Linked DNA regions of Homo sapiens: region 2 is linked to region 1. Evidence: promoter capture Hi-C in 16 types of primary human blood cells and fetal thymus (Javierre and others, 2016). All regions are on one chromosome and are shown on one strand. Each heading gives the region's core, a stretch centred on a gene start or on the middle of the fragment in contact. The rest is flanking DNA. Distances are from core to core; before and after follow the strand shown. Region 1 holds the start of KANSL1L-AS1 (KANSL1L antisense RNA 1). Region 2 overlaps KANSL1L (KAT8 regulatory NSL complex subunit 1 like).

What was found. Contacts are between HindIII fragments. The CHiCAGO score rates a contact against its expected background, and 5 or more counts as called.
Region 2: a contact is called between a fragment that was not itself captured here and the fragment with the promoter of KANSL1L-AS1 in region 1, in 1 of 17 cell types (neutrophils). The highest score is 6.4, in neutrophils.

The regions. Positions count from the first base shown.
Region 1 is chr2:210,028,672-210,036,094 of GRCh38, reverse strand. KANSL1L-AS1 (KANSL1L antisense RNA 1) reads right to left here and starts at 6,173. Exons shown (of 5, transcript NR_110291.1): 1 at 6,097-6,173; 2 at 4,588-4,628; 3 at 3,171-3,932; 4 at 851-939. It overlaps KANSL1L (KAT8 regulatory NSL complex subunit 1 like), which reads left to right. Exons shown (of 15, transcript NM_152519.4): 9 at 4,549-4,674; 10 at 6,177-6,292; 11 at 7,126-7,250. The HindIII fragment of the contact is 1,781 bases long and covers 5,107-6,887 here.
Region 2 is chr2:210,080,604-210,087,966 of GRCh38, reverse strand. All of the region lies in intron 5 of KANSL1L (KAT8 regulatory NSL complex subunit 1 like), which reads left to right. Among named protein-coding and RNA genes, the nearest start is that of KANSL1L-AS1, 54 kb to the right of the region's middle. The HindIII fragment of the contact is 3,201 bases long and covers 276-3,476 here.

The sequences.
Region 1 (7,423 bases), core at 4,924-7,423:
CAGAAAGTTGGTGATGCCTAAGTGCAGCTTCGACTACTTAATTGGAATTTACAGAGAAAGAAGGGTGGAGCGTTCCAGATTAGTGCTTCTCAAACTTTAAAATGTAAGCAAGTTACTTCGGGGATATTGTTAGAATGCAGAGTCTGATTTAGTAAGTCTGGAATGGGACCTGAAATTCTGCATTTCTAACAAGGTCCCAGGTGATTCAGATGCTGTTGGCCCATACTGAGTAACAAGTCTTTAAATAACAAAAACAAACATATGTCTTGTCATGGAGACATGACACAGTATGATATATTCAAATATCTATAAATAAGGCCAGGCACAGTGGCTCACGCCTGTAATCCTACCACTTTGGGAGGCTGAGGCAGGTGGATCACCTGAGGTCAGGAGTTTAAGACCAGCCTTGGCAACATGGTGAAACCCCGTCTGTACTAAAAATACAAAGGCTAGCTGAGGGTGGTGGTGCACACCTGTGGTCCCAGCTACTCGGGAGGCTGAGGCACAAGAATCACTTGAACCCAGGAGGCAGACGTGTAGTGAGCCGAAATGGCGCCACTGCACTCCAGCCTGGGTAACAGAGTGAGACTTCATCTCAAAACAAACAAACAACAACAAATATCTACAAATAACTTGGCATTCCTGTAGGGTAAGTTGTGTGAAGGCAGTAGACAGATCTTTGCTTGGATTTATCCTGTATGGTCCATTAGATTTGGCAGTTTACAATGGCATTGCTGATTTCAGGCAACAAGCAGAGAAAAGCCAAACTGTAGTGGGTTGAAAAGTGAATGGATGACTAGTTTAATCATGAGGAATACCAGACAAAACCAATTTAAGGGTTTATACTTACCAAAATGTTCAAAGTTATGAAAGTTATGGAAGACAGTGGAACTGTTTCAGATATAAGACCTTAATGAGATCTGACAACTGCAATGCCATCTGCAATGAATAGTTGAAATTATCTGTAAATAACATTATAGAGATATTGGTGAAATCTGAATAAGGTCTATAGATTAGCTAATGGTACTGAACTGCATGGCTACATAAGAGAATGTCCTTTGTTTTGAGAAATACACATTGATGTATTTAGGGCTAAAGGGGCATCATGTCAGCAACTAAATTTCATTTGTGGTCTGAAAGAAGGAGGTAAAGCAAATGTGATACGATGTTAACATTTGGGGGATTTCAGAAAAGGGTATACAGAAATTTTTTGTTCTATTTCAAGTTTTCTGTAATTCTGAAATTAGGTCTCAGATAGATGGAAGAGGAGGAACAATAGCACCATAACCCACACAAGCAAGCCAGAAACATAGAGCTCAGTCTTTGTCACCCACACTTCCTCCAACTTGGTCTAAACCAATTGCCAAGTTGTCAATATGATCTTATGTGTTTGAGTTCCTTTTGTGCCTTCGACTACTCTCACAGTCCAACATGATCTCTTATCTATACTGCTGAAATAGACTTTTAATCCATTTTTCCCTTTAATCACTGTAGGCAGTGACCTCCTCAAAATGCAAATCTAATGTCACACCTGCTCCCCACCCCATCCCTTTAAATCATTCGAGAAGGAATATTCTTAACACCTTAAAGCCCTATCTACATAGGCTGGCTCCTCCCTCATGATTCTTTCTCACCATGCTTCCTTACTCTACAGTACATAGCTGTTCAGTTCCCAAATTTGTCCTGTTCCCTTGGGCCATTGTACATGCTATTCTCCTCCTTCCCCTAGCTATCAGCTATTTCTGTTCATATTTGGAGTCTGTCACTTCATCTGGGGAAGCCTTTCCTAGAGCTCTTACTAGCACTCTTATACATTCTCAGTAACATCATGTAGTTTCACAACTGAAATGAATATTTTCCTATCACATTACAATTGCATTCCTTAACACCTGTAAACGACAAGGGCTGCTACAAATCCTAGTTTTGCTTACCTAGGGTTTAGAATAATGCTTGCCATGTAATTGGTTCTCTGTAAAGTTGTTGTTGGATGAATAAAAGGGAAGGAAGTAAAGACAGGATATATGAGAAATGCTATGAAAGTGTGATCTTAGGATGAACTCTAGGAGAGGATTGGGAGAGCAAGAACTGAAAGGCTGGGAGGTTTATCAATAGAACAGGTGAAGAGGATGTGTAGAATTGTCATACATTTCCTACGGTTTCAAGGGTCCATGAAAACCTTACAAGACAGTAACGAATTAGAAGGAAAATAAATGTGAAAAAAACATTTGAATAAAATTTAATTTAAAAATCAACTTTTGGCCGGGCGCGGTGGCTCACGCCTGTAATCCCAGCACTTTGGGAGGCTGAGGCGGGCGGATCACGAGGTGAGGAGATCGAGACCATCCTGGATAACACGGTGAAACCCCGTCTCTACTAAAAATACAAAAAAAAAAAAAAAATAGCCGGGCGTGGTGGCAGCCACCTGTAGTCCCAGCTACTCGGGAGGCTGAGGCAGGAGAATGGCGTGAACCCGGGAGGCGGAGTTTGCAGTGAGCCGAGATCGCGCCACTGCACTCCAGCCTGGGAGACAGAGCGAGACTCCGTCTCAAAAAAAAAATCAACTTTTGTGAAAGTTGATTCCTTCACAAAATTTGATGTTTTCAGAAGAGTGGAGAATTGCTTGTAGAAAATAAGAGAAACGTTAATTGTCTATGATTTGCTTAAATGCTACAGCAAAATGTTATTAAAAGAATGGACACTTTTAACACCTACACACGTTTTAACACACACATACATTTTAAAATCCACCTCTCACAATTCTAGTTACCATTTTAGTACGTTTAGATTACTCCTGCCATGCTGTTTTCTTGTATTAATAACTTTCAGGGTATTATCATCTGTGATGCATTTATGATTTTTCATTTGCTGTTTGACATGCAAGTGCATCGTTGAAATCTTAGGGTTTAATATTGATTCTGGAAAACACTTCAGCTATCACTTCTTCAACTATTCCCTCCTTTTCACTCTTTCTAGTCTCATCTTGTTACCCCATTGCGGTCTTTTTCCCTCCATATTTTCTATCACTCTGTTCCATCAAGTTATGGAATTCCTCTTCCAGACCCTGATTTTGATTTTCAGCTGTGTCCATTCTGTTTCTTAGCCTAGTGATGATTTTAACATTTGAACAATTACATTTTCTATTTCTGACATTTCTCCAGAGGGCCTCTTACCTGTTTCTCTTGGCAATACTGTTTTAAAGAGTTGCTAATCTGTATTCCATGAATGCTTCATTATTTCTTGAGATGGTTCTTCCACTTGTGGTTTGTACCTCTTTTTTGATTGTGTTGGTATTCAGATTTTTGGAGTTTTCTATACTCATCATTGAAGCTGTGATACTCAGTTAAAACTCTTCTACCACTGCTGTTTATGGGACACTTTTGATGGGAAGGGAATTTATACAACATTTGAAATTTTCAGACTAATTTGGGGATGGGCGGGACATTTCAAAGCAGGGCACCTGGGCATTGCCTTCTCTCTCCAACCATTCATTTCTCTGCCTAAAGCTCTGATTCTGTTAGTCTGACTGAGATATTGGCATGTGCAGTCAATATCCAGATAGTTGTCCTGCTCCCAGTTTTCCTTTCTTGTGGGTCTAGAGCACCTTTAGTGGCGTCACACATCTTTGTGGCAGTACTTCACTATGTGCTTCTGCTCTGGGTTTCCTCTTCAAATTCCATATAGTATTAGTCTTTTAGAGATTCCTCAGAAATTCTGCTTTACAGGTTCCACTTTTTGCTTGCAAATGTGGATTTATATGTGCCTATCTGTGCATGTACCTATGTAAAACGTATTTGTCTATCATGTTTAGGGTCATTTGCCATCTTGAAACCAGACACTCCTTGTCAGCTGGTAGGCCATGCCCTTTATTTCAGTGTGAGTTTGGCACTTCAGCTTACATATTTCTTTTTCCACTCCTTTCCACATCTCCAAACCTTTCAAAAAAAGAAGCCAATTTGGTTGTTAGACCAAGGCTGGAAATAAGGGGGTTCAGATATACAATCATGATAACGCTAACATTTACTGCACACTTATCACATCAGACACTTTTACTTACTACTACAGGAATAAACTCATGTAATCATTATCCAAGGTCGCTGCTATTATCCCTATTTTACAGATGATGCAACTAAGGCATCAGAGATATTAAATGATTCTGGTTCTTGCTCGCACAGTCTAGTCTGACCATGTTGAATCTTACTTGGTCCCAACTTATTTCCAGATTTAAAGGTAAGCAAGAACTTAAAGATTCTGATCGCCAAGATTTATATATCTGAGCCAATCCTCACTCTATCAAGTTTCTGTAATTTGGAAGACTTTGAGAACAGATCATCTTCCCTTTTCATCCCCCTCAAAAAAATGGAGAAAATATAAGAAACTGGAAATTCCTGGGGATGTTTTTAGTTGGAGTTGTGTGTCTTGGTATTTATGTTTATCTGTAATTTTGAACTGGTATCTTAAAATTCTGCAGTTACAAATAAAAACAGATTGACATGTTCACTGTCTGTGTTAAGGAACTAAAACTTAATATTTCCTTTTCATTTGTTTTAGTACATAGTACTCTGAATCAATGGAGAAATGGATATTCACCTATATGTAAGCCTCAAATAAGGTCAGAATCTTCTGCACAACTGTTACAGGGAAGAAAGAAAAGACATTTGAGTGAAACAGCATTAGGTAGGTTAAAGTGAGGATATAAGCAGTAGTGATAAATATTAAAAATTAAAAATTCTGATTTTAAAATAACCTCTCATGGGAGTTTATAATCCAGAACAGCCACTAATAACACAAAACATCTATGAGTCTACAAACATGAAACAGCATATTCGTAGTTAATTTAGAATTATTTGTGGACTGGTATCTACCCACTTTATGGCAATTAAGTATTTCCCTCCTATGTTCCCTGACTAGTTGTCTTCTACCAATCAGTCCCTGGATGGGATTTAATCTTCAAAGTTGTGTTCTATGCTCAAAATAGGCTAGTGCAAAGTTGCCTTACAGAAACTGTTAACCATTTATGGTACCTACTGTGGAGATGTTGATGCACTGCAGATTCCTCAGGATTTTGAGAAAGTCAACAAGATTCAACTTATATATATATATAAAGCTTTAAAAACATCTAATAAGATGCAACATGAAGTATACATTACCTAAGATATAAAATGTTTCACTTAAATTGACTGACACTTTAGATCTAACTTCAAGTTTGATGTACATACAGGAATAAAATAAAGAAATGTCATACTACAAATAAATAACTAGACAATTCCAAAAGGGTAGGACATCTGGTCCAGCCTGTCAAAAGTCAATGTAATGAAAAATGATTTATTCTAGACTATAAGAAACCTAGGAGACAATGGCCAATTTTTATATATAGATCCTTATCTGAAGAAACTAGCTATAAAGGACTTTTTTTTAACAAATGGAGATATTTAAATATGGACTGGGTATTAGATTTTATATTATGCAGGAAATATTCTCATTTTAAAACACTTGTACTAAAATAAGGGCAGTAAGTAAACGCATACATATATATATTTACTACACACACACACACACACAGTAACTGGGAACCAAAACAGGAAAAAAAAAAAAAAAGAACTTGGAAGATATACAGAAAATACTAACAGAAGTAAACTTCTAATCAATATCCTGAGAGATATGAGAAATTTCATCTATGAAACAAGAACAGGATGCTGTTTTAAAAAAAGAGTACCAGAGAACAAGTACTTTCGGAAACATGTACTTATAATAGCAGAATTTTTTCAAAAAATTAAGAGTGTTCAGAAGACCAAGGACAGATACCTCACATAAATTAGGATAAAAAGTCAGATATGAAAAATGAGATTAGATAAGAAAATTAAGATAGTTCTGGTGGTTCAACTATGAATAGGAGTCACAGGAAACAAGAATAAAGGGATGAGATGAGGGATTATTCAGGGAACAATAAGAAATATATTCGATAAAAACTGCCAAAGCCCCAGAAAATGGAAATAACTTGTGGCATGACTGCAAGTAAGGCTCCTCTTTTTTCATTTCCTTTTTTGTTTTCTAATACACGAATTTAAACACACACACACAAAACAAGGAATCAATCACCTGTCATCTAATTAGGAAAGTAATTCTAATGATATTAGACTTGTTTAATGTGTAACATTCAATGGTTCTTTCCATGGCAGGAGAAAGAACTAAACTTGAAGAATCTGATTTTCAACACACAGAATCAGGATCCCATAGCAATTTTACTGCTGTTTCCAATGTCAACGTTTTATCAAGAATCCAGAATTCATCACGAGTAGGTTTTTCCATATGTTGAACTCTAAAATAGCTTTAAAAATAAAAACACCTGATTTTGAAAATAATTTATATTTTGCTAATCTATAACAGCCTTACTAGCACATATTAACAGACATTTATAACTATCTTGTTAGAAAACAATATATTTGATTCATACAACTTATTTTTAACTATGAAGCTAAAAGTTCATTAATATTTGGTTATAGCTTCTTTTTATGTGTTAAAAATTTAAACATTATCATGATCATCTCTATTCCTTAACATATTAAGCTAAATAAAGTCTTACTAATGAGAATTCAGGACTTTCTTGTTCTTGTCCTGTTTTTTGTTTGTTTGTTTGTTTTTTTGTTATCTGGCCAGGGAATAGAGAGGTCAAAAGGTGGGAGGGTTTAGAAATGAATTCCGAAACTCAGGAACCAGGAATGCATAAATGAAGAGTATACTGAAGGGCTGACCAAAAATGTTTCACTGCCTTTCCTAATAAAAAGTGGTTACTGATCATTTTCATTGACATTTAGGGTGATGTATGTTGGTCTTTTCTGATAAAGAGTTTTGCATTTAAGACCTATTTTTTGTGGTCTTAAAAATAAGCTTGTATGCTTGCACACATAAATACACATTACACATCTACCAAGAGATTGTTCTGATTTACAAAAGATAGAAAAATGTTTTATTTTTTGGTTTTCTTAACATTTTTTAGTCAGACTTTATAACAATGTATTTACAAAAATTATGTAACGTGTACTGCCATATTTACATAACTGATGAAAGGAGGGTATCATTACAAGTAACTAGACAGTACTGTAAATCTACTGTAATCCTGTTTTGCAGAATACTGCACGACGGAGATTGAGAAGTGAGAGCTCTTATGACATAGATAACATTGTGATTCCCATGTCATTAGTAGCCCCAGCTAAATTAGAGAAACTCCAATATAAGGAAATACTTACTCCAAGGTATGTATACTTACATCTTCATATTTTTCTTCCTTCCTTCCCTAATAAACTTAAATTTTCAAAGTGAAGAATTTTAATTAATGAAAGGAGCATCCTTCTCCCAGTTCCTTCATAGCCATGGAGGGGAAACGGTGAAAAAAAAATTACTCGTGCCTTAAGTGTTATATAGTATC
Region 2 (7,363 bases), core at 627-3,126, 56 kb before region 1:
TAAATGATCACACAAATGTATAATTTTAAACCTTGATCAAGTGCTATGAAGAAAATTTTTATTGTTAAGAATATTACTTTGGAATTAGATCACGGTTCAATCCCAAATTGACCAATTGGTAGTATTGATCCTGCACGGCAATCTGAATTAGATAGAATGAGAACAGCCTGTTTTCTGGGTTGTGTTGTGAAGATCAAATGAGGTAACAAATGTGATGTTATTTTGTTAATTTTTTACGTGCTTATTATCTGTCTTCCTGGACTTGAACATAAGCTTCAGGAGAGTAAGAATTTTTTGGTCTATCTTACTGAACTGTTGTTTTCCTTAGTACTTGGATCAGAGAGTCACATCATGGGCATGAATTAATATTTGTTGAATGAATGAAATGTTGTTCATGATTTCTTGCCCATACTCAGCATTCATAAGGAATATTTTGTACTTAACGTATTTTTTCTTCCCTATAGTCAGATTGATATTCTATTTGTTGCTTTCGTGGCTGTCTCCTGCAGTTCTGCTTCTCTTCCTAATTTGACTCTGGACTAGAAAATCAGATAACCAATGTGATAGATGACATAGATGTCTCTGTAATAAGAGATATTTAAAAAAATCTGTAAGAGAGAAGGCCTCTCTTAAAAGCAACAAGAGGATGGCCAGGCATGATGGCTCATGCCTGTTAATTCCAATAATTTGAGAGGCTGATGCAGGAGGATCACCAGCAGTTCAAATCCAGCTTGGGCAACATAGGAAGACTCCATGTCTACAAAAATTAAAAAAGTGAGCCAGATGTGTTGATGCATGTGGTCTCAGCTGCTTGGGACGCTGAGGTGGGAGGATTGCTTGGTCCCAGGAGGTCAGGGCTGCAGTGAGCCGTGACCATGCCACTGCACTCCAGCCTAGGTGACAGAGCAAGATCCTGTCTCAAAAAAAAAAAAATAAAATAAAAAATAAAAAAAGGAACAGGAGTGAACTTTCATGCATAAACTTACTGAGATCTCTTTTTGTTATTTAAAGGCCTTTTAAACATTTCAGCTACATTCTATATATATAGTTGATGTTGCCAGATAAGGAAACTCATAAATGAAATGTTACAGTTCTTCTAATAAAGCATGCTTATTATAGCTTTATATCACATTATATCATAATTCTTGTATATAATTAGGTTAGAAGAAATTTAAATTTTTAATTTTTAAAGGTTAGCCTCATTCTATATACTAATTTTTGTGGATCATATAGAACTTTTGTTTGATATAATTCTCTTAAGTATTTAAGTATTAACTCATACTTAAATATGAATTCTTCATAATTTTAAGTATTAATGGTAATGATCTGTCCTCACAGTGCATTTAAAGTAAACTTACCTGGTTAATTATTTCCCAGGGCATGTTTGCACACTTGCTATTTATTGATTACTAACTCCTATCTTTTATTTAATAACAATATCGCCTAGAAAAGTGTCAAGAGTTTTTTTTTTTTTTAGCTTTATTAATCTTGGCAGTATGGTCTCAGATGACTCACCAGGAACTGTGCAACTAAGAAGATTGAGTCTTCAAACAAATGAAGCATTACATTTTATTATCATAGGGATAGTTTTTGGTTTTCAGATCTCATACTCTAAAATGAAGATAAAATGTTATAAATTAATCCTTGTTTATCCCATGGGGTATTATCTTTGAGAAAGTGAATTCCTACTTGAAATAGTGTCTAGATTTTTGTCATTGTTTGTTTTGTTTTTGCTTTAATGAGTCCCAGAATATGACATGAAATTAAATTCCGATGAATTATTGCCATGCTATTTATTTCTACTAATGATAATTATCTCATGTGACATGCAACTATCCTTTCTTAATTGGATATCATAATTGAAAAACTGCAGTTAGGCTGGCAAACTAATCACATAAAAAGTAAATTTTTTACCCTCAATATTTTCAATAGTCACTTCTCAATTATGAGAAAACATTGTTTGTTAGAAGCATATTCTAAGTTGATGTTTTCAGTATAATTTTGGATTCCTGTGAATGACAATATTATATATAATAATTATTAATAAATATTTAATTACAATAAATATATACATAGTTTACTTTTTCCTTTATAACTCTAATATAAGCCTAAAACCTAATATTATATAAGTGAATATATTAATAAATTGTGGTACAACCACTAGATCTAATATCATGTAACTATACAAAATTATGTATGTAGAAAATATATAATCATATGGAAACATGCTTATATTGAAATATTAAGTGGAAAAATGCGGACACTAAAATTATAGTACAGTATGATTTTATAGAAAAAAGATGTGAAGGGTATAAATGAAAACTATATTTCTGTTGAGAAGATGGGATTTTGAAAAATATTTCAGCTTTTATTCAAGTTTTTTTGTATTTTTGTTTTCCTTAAAATATAAAATAGAAATTATCTGTAAGTGCCTCAGATCAGACAAATATTTGACAAACTTTATGTCTCAATTATCAGGTAGAAAAGTATGGCTATCATATTGGTTTCCTCGTCTCTTTGCCTTTATGTGTTAAAAAGTCCCACTTTAAGTTAAGAGCCAGAGATAAGAATGACAGATAGTTCTGTAATAATTGGTATTTTCCCCCATCTACTCTTATTGTGGAAAACTTCAGACATATAGAAAGCATAGTAAAGTGAACCCACATATTCTCAGCTTTAACAGTTTTCAAAATTTTGCTAATTCTTTTGTTATTCCTTTTCCTGACACACTTTCTTTTTCTAGGCATTTGTAAAGCAGTTTCTAGTGATTGTTATTTTAACTATAAATAGTTCTTTATATTTCATTGATAAGCCTTTTAACATACCTACCACTTTATTATCACATTTAATACTGTTAACCATAATTTGTTAGTCTTGAAATTCTCTATCCATATTCAAATTTCTGCTTGTCTCAAAATTATCTTTTTATGATTAATTTGTTAAAACCTGTATCCGAAGTCCATAAATTACATTTGGTTATTATGTCTCCTAAGTCTCTTTTATTTTCAATAGCCATTTCAAAATGTATTAGACATCCTAATAAAAGAGAAAAAAAAAGGCTGGGCATGGTGGCTTATGCCTGTAATCCCAGCACTTTGGGAGGCCGAGGCGGGTGGATCATGAGGTCAAGAGATCGAGACCATCCTGGCCAACATGGTGAAACCCCATCTCTACTAAAAACAAAAATTACCTCGGCGTGGTGGCACATACCTGTAGTCCCAGCTACTTGGGAGGCTGAGGCAGGAGAATTGCTTGATCCTGGGAGCCGGAGGTTGCAGTGAGCCGAGATCGTGCCAATGCACTCCAGCCTGGCGACAAAGTGAGACTGTGTCTCAAAAAAGAGAGAGAAAAAAAAAAGAAATCACTATATTGCTCAGAGTATATTTTCTTGCCATCTTTTTAATATAGTCTTTTCATAGTTTAGATCTATTAGAAGTAATTTTATATCTTTTTCAGTTAATATTATATCTGAAGCTTTTTATACTTAAAATAGTTATTTCCCACTTCAGTACCTACAGTAAGATGGATCTTAATTTTTCTTTCTAAGACGGAGTCTCGCTCTTGTTGCCCAGACTGGAGTGCAGTGGTGCGATCTCGGCTCACTGCAACCTCCATTTCCTGGGTTCAAGCGATTTTCCTGCTTCAGCCTCCTGAACAGCTAGGATTACAGGTGCCCGCCATCACACCTGGCAAATTTTTGTATTTTTAGTAGAGACGGGGTTTCACCATGCTGGCCAGGCTGGTCTCGAACTCCTGACCTCAGGCAATCTGCTTGTGTCGGCCTCCCAAAGTGCTGGGATTACAGGCATGAGCCACTGCGCCCAGCCTTAATTTTTTTAGATACTACATCTTATTTTTAAAGAATGTCATTTTACAGTGTACTACAACACATTTTCTTATTGTTAGAGTTGAAGAGACTTCCATTTTTGAGTAAGAGATGTAGTTTCTCTACTTATTACCCAGAGTAAGGGAAATGGTCTAGGAACTGTTTTCTCTATACCAGGCAATGCCAGATCTTGATCTATTTGATCATTTGAGAGAGGTATTTACTTTTGCCAATTGGAGGATAAATAATCCTCCTATTAAGTTTAAGTCTTATTTTTTATTAGTTTCTTACTTTTTTTTTTTTTTTTTTTTGAGATGGAGTCTCACTCTGTCGCCCAGGGCTGGAGTGCAGTGGCATGATCTCGGCTCACTGCAAGCTCTGCCTCCCGGGTTCATGCCATTTTCCTGCCTCAGCCTCCCAAGTAGCTGGGACTACAGATGCCCACCACCTCGCCCGGCTAATTTTTTTGTATGTTTAGTAGAGACGGGGTTTCACCGTGTTAGCCAGGATGGTCTCGATCTCCTAACCTCGTGATCCACCCAAATTTGATTACTGCCATCCTAAATGCCATTGGGTTATCTGAATATGTGATGCATTCGTATCTCCCAGTACTATCAAGGATAAAGGAGGTAATAAATTCAGATATTGGCAGGACTTTGTGTAGTAGGGAAAGTATGGAAAAGGTTGCTGCCTACCTTAGTTACAATAGGTTGAATTCATCAAAGGACTTCCAACTGGAAAAGGAGAAACTTGAAATAGAGATTACAAGTCATGCAATAACTATGATTCTTAGGTGCATATGTTTATGGATATATTAGTTTCCTAGGGCCGCTGTATTTTAAGCCACTAATTTTGTGGCTTAAAATAACAGGTGTTTCTTATTACACAGTTCTGGAGGCTAGAAGTTCAAAATTAAGGTGTCAAGATCATACTTCCTGTGAAGGTTCTAGGGAATCCTTCTTTGCCTCTTCCTAGCTTCTGGTGGTTGCCTGCAGTTCCTTGACTTTCCTTGTAAGACATACACACATCACTCCAAACTCTGCCTCTATCTTTACATGGCATTCTTTGTGTGTCTCTTCTTGTAAGGAAATCACTGATTTGATTTAGGGCTCATCCTCATCCAGTGTGTCCTCATCTTAACTAATCACATTTGCCAAGTATTTCCAAATAATGTTACATTCTGAGGTTCTGGGTAGACATGAGCTTTGAGGAGACACTATTCAACCCAGTTTAGTGGGTGTGGGCATTTGTGTATAGTTTTATGGGTGGAGGGGGACACCTAGGAAACTATCATAATCTCTGTGAGAATGCACATTCTAATTTTCTTCAGAGTTTATTTCTACTTTTACTTAAGTAGTTTAATTTGAGAATGGTGTGAATGTGGGGGAAATGTTAGAAACCACTGACTTAAAACAATAGTTTTAAATTGTATGTTGAATAAGTCCCTATTTGCTGCTATTCCTTGAACTTAGTTTCCTTGGCTCCATAGTGTATTTTGAAGCAAAGGGCAGGACATATGCACCATGAAGTGGTAATATGAAAAGATGGAGGCCATTAGTTTAGCATGTGCTGGTATTCGTCTATTTTTCCATAAAGTATAGCTCTTCAGTTAATCATTGTCCTGGTATACAAGGGAAATTTTTAATTATGACCTTCTTACTATGAGTAATTCCTGGCTTTTGAGGATATCTTAAGGATATGGATCTTTCACACTCCTATGCTGAAGATCTTTGAATTTTCTTTTCCTGTGCTTGACATCGAGTGCTGAATGTAGTTTAGTACATGTCTTAGATTCCAAATGTCTAAAAGCATTTTTATCACATATCATTAAGTAGCAGCATTTTCCAAAGCAGTCATCTATCATGTTGTAATCTTTCTGATTGGATGGTAAATGCATCCTTACAAATTATCAGCATTACAGTATTTCATCAAAATGGAATATGCACTTTGGGAGGCTGAGACGGAAGGATCGCTTGAGCCCAGGAGTTCCAAACCATCCAAGAAATTTGACGAGACTCTGTCTGTATGGAACATAAAAAATTAGCCAGGCATGGTGGCATGCACCTGTAGTCCCAGCTACTCAGAGGCCTGAGGCAGGAGCATCACTTGAGCCAAGAAGGTTGACACTGCTGTGAGCTGTGTTCATACCAGATGCACTCCAGCCTGGGAGACAGAATGAGATTCTCTCTGAAAAACAAAAAACCCTAACTTTGTAAACCAAAGAGTCAGATTTAGAAGGAAACTTCAAGGCAGTGGAAATATATATCTTTTTTTAAAGTTGTCTTGTAGCCTTCTATTTAATAGAGCTTCTTTGGCTCTTAGACTAAAATGTTTAACATTTACTTATTCACCAAACTAATTATTTAGGTGTAGTGTGTGTTATGCATATGCTGTACTAAACCCAGGGCTGGAATGATAAACCTGACAACATATGTGTATGTACAGTATTTCTCCATTCCCTCAACAAATAATCATGGTGTATCTGCTATATGTAAGGCATAATATCAGGAATTTCTGATGCAAGGATAAACAAAATAGACACAGTCTCTGCACTACTGACAGTCTAGAAAGGAAGACAGATTAATCAGATAATCATGCAAATAAATATAAAATTATCACTATGAAAATGCTAGGAAGGAGAGGTGAACAGTGAGTGCTCACCTTTCAGAGCTCAGGGAATTTGACCTAGTCTTTGGAGGGAGATCATGCAGGAGCTAGAAAACTTCCCCAAGGAACTGACTTTGGATCTGAGAGTTAGATGATTATTGGAAATTATGTAGTGAAGAGGATGTGTGAAGATTCTAGGAAGCAAAAATAACATGTAGATCTTATACAGTATGAAGTGTGAATTATTTATAAAGAAAGGAAGCAGTATGGTTGGAAATGTCAACCTAAGGAAAGAAAATGAGGCAGAATTAATATAGAGACTTTATTTGGGTCAAGGTTGAGGACTGCAGCCTGGGAAACATTGGGAAGTGCTCCATTTGGCCTTGTTACAAGCAGGTGTTTTTTTGTTTGTTTGTTTTGTTTTTCTGAGACACAGTCTTACCCTGTTGCCCAGGCTGGAGTGCAGTGGCACAGTCTTGGCTCACTGCAACCTTCACCTCCCTGGTTCACGCGATTCTCATGCCTCAGGCTCCCAAGTAGCTGGGACTACAGGCATGCACCACCACGCCTGGCTGATTTTTGTATTTTTGGTACAGACAGGGTTTCACCATGTTGGCCAGGCTGGTCTCAAACTCCTGGCCCCAAGTGATCCACCTGCTTCAGCCTCCCAAAGTGCTGGGATTACAGGCATGAGCCACCATGCCCAGCCACAAGCAGATAAGGCAAAAAGGGACAAGGGACTTTGTCTAAGACCACAAAAGGGGCTGATACAAATTTATGTTTGACATGAATTCTTACTGGTTTACAAAAGTAACATTGATTACTAATTGGCTATATGTTGTTGAACTATAGTTTGTTAAGGTGTCTAGTGTATGGTATGTTTTGGCTACTTGGTGTCAGTTAGTCTACAGCCCACATAGCAAGTGGCTT